Linked DNA regions of Homo sapiens: region 2 is linked to region 1. The links are contacts of gene promoters, found by promoter capture Hi-C in blood cells and fetal thymus (Javierre and others, 2016). All regions are on one chromosome and are shown on one strand. The core of a region is centred on a gene start or on the middle of the fragment in contact, and the rest is flanking DNA. Distances in the headings are between cores, read along the strand shown.

Evidence for each region. The method cuts DNA at HindIII sites, captures the fragments that hold promoters and counts their contacts. A CHiCAGO score of 5 or more calls a contact.
Region 2: a fragment that was not itself captured here is called in contact with the fragment with the promoter of VIL1 in region 1 in 3 of 17 cell types (total CD8 T cells, naive CD4 T cells and monocytes); the score reaches 7.6 in total CD8 T cells.

The regions. Positions count from the first base shown.
Region 1 is chr2:218,417,433-218,420,462 of GRCh38, forward strand. It overlaps VIL1 (villin 1), which reads left to right and starts at 1,691. Exons shown (of 20, transcript NM_007127.3): 1 at 1,691-1,736. The HindIII fragment of the contact is 19,335 bases long and covers 1-3,030 here.
Region 2 is chr2:218,229,166-218,232,292 of GRCh38, forward strand. The region is part of intron 4 of ARPC2 (actin related protein 2/3 complex subunit 2); the gene reads left to right. Among named protein-coding and RNA genes, the nearest start is that of ARPC2, 14 kb to the left of the region's middle. The HindIII fragment of the contact is 1,516 bases long and covers 713-2,228 here.

The DNA of each region.
Region 1 (3,030 bases), core at 441-2,940:
TGCAAAATGCAGCCACAGTGCAGGATAAGTGCTAATGAAAATAGAAGGGGCTTCAATTTGTGGGTGGAAGACACGAACAGAAACATGCTCCAGCTGATGGCAGCCAGGTTCGGTACGATCCGAGGTTTTAAGGCATCCACTGCGGGTCCTGGAATGTATCCCCCGTTGGATAAGGGGGGGACTACTGTACATTTGGTCTCCAGAACTCTTGGGAGGCTGTGATGAGAAGGACGTACTGCCCTCACCCAGCCCACTTCACGTCACCCTCCTAAGGACCAGGCTTCACAGGTGATAGGAGAATTTCTGCAGTCTGGGAGGCAGCTGCCCAAGGTGCTGAGTTTGCGTGTGAAGCTGGTTTCTCAGCGAGATCCACGCTGGAGTTGGCTGCACAACTTTCCTGCCTGAGTGAGATGGATCCCCTAGGGTCAGGGGTCAGACATGGAAACCTTGGCTTCTGGGAGAGGGTAGCAGAACAGAGTTCAAAGGCACTGGTTTATGGCATCTCATAAAAACTCCAGGTGGGCCGGGTGCAGTGGCTCACGCCTGTAATCCCAGCACTTTGGGAGGCCGAGGTGGGCGGATCACGAGGTCAAGAGTTCAAGACCAGCCTGGCCGACATGGTGAAACCCCGTCTCTACTAAAAATACAAAAATTAGCTGGGCGTGGTGGTGTGCGGCTGTAATCCCAGCTACTCGGGAGGCTGAGGCAGGAGAATCACTTGAACCCAGGAGGCGGAGGATGCAGTGAGATGAGATCACGCCACTGCACTCCAGCCTGGGCGACAGAGACAGACTCCATCTCAGCAAAAAAAACGAAAACAAAAAAAACACTCCAGGTGGAGCCAGTGCCCCTAAGGGTGGAGAGGAGGAGCAGTTGTGCTCACTGGGGCCCTTGCTAAGTGAGGGTCATGCTGAGAAGAGACCTCTAGGAGACCTCTAAGAGACCTCCCATCTGTTCTGGAGGGGCCCTGAGTATAAGTCCCTGCATTCCTGGGTTTGGGGCTTCTGCAACCCTAGAGTCCTGCCTCTCTTTCTCCATGAACCATTCACCCCAGGGCAGGTGGGAGGACAGCTGAGCCTCCTTCTCTTGGTTGGTAGGAGGAAAGGTTCAGGCGCCGCTGACCCTACCTGGACAGTGCTGTCTGCCTGTGGTGAGGGCCTGGGCCCTGGGCAGAAAAGCACCCCATCCCTTGCTCACTCAGAAGCCAAGGGAGGGGCTGGGCGCCGGGCCTCACACCTGTAATCCCAGCACTTTGGGAGGTCGAGGCAGGTGGATCATTTGAGGTCAGGAGTTCAAGTCCAGCCTGGCCAACATGGTGAAACCCTGTCTCTGCTAAATATACAAAAATTAGCCAGGCATGGTGGCACATGTCTGTAGTCCCAGTTACTTGGGAAGCTGAGGCAGGAGAATCACTTGAACTTGGGAGGCGGAGGTTGCAGTGAGTCGAATTCATACCACTGCACTCCAGCCTGAATGACAGAGTGAGGCTCAAAAAAAAAAAAAAGCCAAGGGTGGGGCACATCAGCTCTCATTGTCAGGCTGTGGAGGGCTCTGGGCTCCCAGGGACCTGGCAGCACCTGCCTCCCCACCCCCTCACCTCTCTGGGGCCCTATCTTCCCTTATATGGTGAAGGCAGTTCCTAGAGGAGGGGGGGTGGGGACAAAGGTCGCTCTTCTGCAGCCAGCTTGCCACAATTCCCTGAGATCTCCCAGGTGGCAGCTGCCTCCCCAAGACAGGTAAGGCAACCTGGTGGGAACACATGGAGACCTTAGGTGGTGCGAGGGGACGGGGTCCTCTGCTTTTCTCGGGCAACTTGGGGCCTCCTGGAGCACCTTGGTACGGGCTCGAAGGGGAGGCTTGACACTCTGGATAGCGTGAGAAGTGCTGGGAGCCCAGTGTGTCTGCCCTGGGCCTCCAGGGAGAGACTTTTGCAGGCCCTGCCCCAGACAATGGCTCTCTCAGTCTCCTACCTGTGGCTAGCCCCATCCCACTTTGGGTGTCACCATCCCAATTGCCCTGGAACTTCTAGAGTTAAAACCAGGACAGTGCTGGGCAGACCGGGACTAGTTGGTCTCCCTGACCTCACTCCCCGAGCCCCCTCCCCACCAGCTCATCTCTTTGCCCGTGCGTTCTTCATCTGAAGTGTTTTTTTCTTTGTGTCACCATTCCTCTGACACTCCTGGGACCTCCGGGTCCTGCCTCCTGGCTCCTAGCATATGAGCAACAGCCACCAGCAATTGAATGGGCACACACAGAGGCAAGGGCAGAGGCAAGGGGCTGGAGGTGGCAGGGCCTTAGGTCCTGGGCCATGCCGGGCCACCCTAGCATGCACCTCTGCCCCATCTCCCCTCTACCCGGAGCTGCCCCATTGGCCTCCCCAGCCACTGTGGGCCCATTCAGCAGAACTAGGAATGGGAGCTAGCTGCAGACCAGGCTCTGAGGACACACTGGCTGCTGTCTTCTCGGGACATCATCTGCTGGGGCAGAGCCTTTGGGCTGGAGGGTCTTGGCGGGTGTCCATTCCCTCTTCTATCATGAGCCTGGGAAGCAGGAGGATGTCCTTTGTCTGAGGGGTGGGACTTCACCCCCACTGCCCCACCACATTCCTGTCCAGCTCAGAGCTGCACGACTGGGAACTAGGAGCCGTGGCAGCACCCCACTTACAACAGAGCCGCAACTCAAGTACAACAGGGCTCAGATAAGAAAGGCATGGTGGGCCAGGTGCAGAGCCTCATGCTTGGAATCCCAGCACTTTGGGAGGCCAAGTGGGGTGGATCACTTGAGGTCAGGACTTCAAGACCAGCCTGACCAACATAGTGAAACCCCGTTTCTACTAAAAATACATAATTAGCTGGGTGTGCTCGCGCACGCCTATAGTCCCAGCTACTCGGGAGGCTGAGGCACGAGAATCGCTTGAACCCAGGAGGCGGAGATGACAGTGAGCCAGAATTGCACCATTGCACTCCAGCCTGGGTGACAGAGTGAGACTCTGTCTCAAAAAAAAAAAAAAAAAAAGAAAAGAAAAAAAGA
Region 2 (3,127 bases), core at 221-2,720, 190 kb before region 1:
AGGCAGATAGATAACTTCTAGCTTGTTTAAATTTTATAGTCTCAGGTTCTCATTCTGGAGGCTTAGGCACAAATAGCTGTCTTTTGAAATTTTTAATTAAAGCTCTTTAAAGCTACCGTCTTTAAATATCTCTTCTTTATAACTACCATAGGGGAAATAAGAAAGATGTCCAGACATTATGAAACTTCGGTGGCCATGCCTTGTTCACTGGCTTCTTTAAATAGTTAAGTAGCAGGTTTGGTTCCTGTTGAACTGTATTTGCTCTGAGGAGAGCCATTTATGGAAGAAAGAAAATGCTATTACACCAGTTTGTGCACGCTGTGGTTGGGTCTCAAAGCAGGAAATATGACTCAGTTCCTGAATCAGTTTTCAAATTTCTTAGTTTTAACAAACTAGGTTCTCCTTAATCTGTTAAATGAAGATATAACCATAGCTGTTTCTTTCTGAAAAGTAGTAGCTTTTGAATTATTTAAAACTTATATAATAAAAGATGATTTGTAAAGGAATATGGTCAAAAGCTTGTTTAATTTTTTAGCATAAAAACTAAAATTAGTCTTAATACCAAGAGCCATTGGTTGCTTCCCTTAGTTATTCAAATGCAATTGATTTTCTCATAAGTTCAAAGAAAGAAGAAATATTTAGAGGATTTGGAATCCAGATTAGTTTACTGGAAAAAGAAAAGCTTCAGAAAGAAGACCTAGTGCTTTTATAAAGCTTATGAAGAATTGTTTTGTAAAAGATAGTGGCTGACACTTCTTTACCAGATAAAGAGTGAAAGAAAACAAATGGCTATTAAAGCAGCCCTGCCTCTTTTTTTTTTTTGAGGTGGAGTCTCACTCTGTTGCCCCAGGCTGTACTGCAGTGGCGCCAGCTCAGCTCACTGCAACCTCCAACTCCTGGGTTCAAGCAGTTCATCTGCCTCAGCCTCCTGAGTAGCTGGGATTACAGGCATGCACCGCTACACCTGGCTAATTTTTTGTACTTTTCATAGAGATGGCGTTTCACCACATTGGCCAGGCTGCTCTCAAACTTCTGACCTCAGGTGATCTGCCTGCCTCGACCTCCCACAGTGCTAAGATTGCAGGTGTGAGCCACCGTGCCCAGCCTTTTCTTTTTTTTTTCTTTTTTTTTTTTTTTTTTTTTTTTGACAAGGTCTTGTTCTGTCACCTAGGCTGGAGTGCAGTGGCACAATCACAGCCACTGCACCCCTCAACCTCCCAGGCTCAAGCAGTCCTCTCACCTCAGCCTCCTGAGTGTCTGGGACTACAGGCACGTGCCACCACACCTGGCTTATTTTTTGTTTGTTTGTTCTTTAGAGAGAGGAGGTTTCACTATGTTGCCCAGGCTAGTTTCAAACTCCTGGGCTCAAGCAGTCCTCCTTCCTGGGCCTCCCAAAGTGCTGGGATTATAGATGTGAGCCACCATGTCCAGCTGCATCGCTGCTTTGGATCAGCTATAACTACCTGAAAAGAAGTGTTAAAATATTTGAATAGACTTTTTTTAAATTGTGTAATCATTCTCCCCTAGACAGTCTTCACTAGGTGCAAGCCTGCACAGTGGCACACACCTGTAGTGCCAACTGTGTGTTGGGACTTCACACAGTTGGCTTGAGGGGTTCAAGTGGGGAGAGTTGCTGGAGCCCAGGAGTTCAAGTCCAGCCTGGACGACATAGTGAGATTCCACCTCAAAAAAAGGAAAAGATCTAAATGCAATAATAATAATCCTGGAAAGAAAGAGTTAAGCTAGATTTCTTAAATCTCCTTTCCATTCTGTGCTTTTCTTACGATGGAGCTCCAGAACACATTGCTATTCTTGTAGCTACCACAAGGGTCAAAGAACCAGCCCCACCCACTCAAGTGGGTGGAGTAAGTAACATTCATAGTGTTGGAGCAGAGTGCACAGTAAATGGCTCCCTGGGTTGGTTAAACAGTGACCAACCCATGATAACCACAGGAAGGTTATTACTTTGTCACAGGCCATTTTTAAAGGTGGAATGCCTCTGCTGCTAGAGTGGGAAGGTAATGGTGATGAGTGATAGGTTGCCTCCACCCATCTCCTGGTGTCATTGGGAGAGGGGGTACAAACTGAAAAGTGAATCATGGTTAAAAGTGCAAGTGAAGTGACAAGGAAGTGTTGGCTGGTTTTACCAAGGGGAGGGAGCAAAGCAGTTGAACATGATATAAATTTGGCTCTCAGTACCTCTTAGATCTCAGAATATTAACTTAGTAAGCTTGAAATTAAACTAAATCTTAGGGACTTAGGGATTTAAACTAAATCCCCACCACATCTGATTTCCCCTTCCTCGAAATACCAATAGTACGTGCAACACAGACTTGTAGCTCAGAGGTCGCATGCTGTTTCAAATTCTTGGGATATGCATGTTACTTTTTTTTAAAGAAGTGGTATATCAGACACCTGAAGGTCAAGTCTCTCTGTGCCACCAAGAAACTCTCGTGACCTTGAGCCCCTCCTCTCAATTCCTCTTCGGTAAAAGAAATACCTCACAGTGGCTGTGCAATCACCAAATAGGAACTACAGGTGGCATTATTTATCTTTTGCCCTTGTGTAAGAAAATGTAGTCTTGCAGGTTGAAAATTTCTTCCAGCTATAGGAAAATGGTTAAATAAATATGTGGAATATTAGGAAATTATTGTTCAGCCAGGCGTGGGGGCTCATTCCTGTAATCCCAGCACTTTTGGAGGCCAAGGCAGGAGCATCGCTTGAGGTCAAGAGTTCAAGCCCAGCCTGGGCAACGTAGTGAGACCCTGTCTTTGTATATAAATAAATAAGTAGGCCAGGCGCAGTGGCTCACGCCTGTAATCCCAGCACTTTGGGAGGCCAAGACAGGTGGATTGCTTGAGGTCAGGATTTCGAGCCCAGCCTGGGCAACATGGTGAAACCCCATCTCTACTAAAAAATATAAAAATTAGCTTGGTGTGGTGGTGGACACCTGTAATCCCAGCTACTAGGGAGGCTGAGGCAGGAGAATTGCTTGAACCCAGGAGGTGGAGGTTGCAATGAGCCGAGATCACGCCACTGCACTCCAGCCTGGGTGACAGAGTGAGACTCCGTCTCAAAAAAAAAGAATTAATTAAATTAAAATAAAATGTTTGTTTCTTAAGCCATG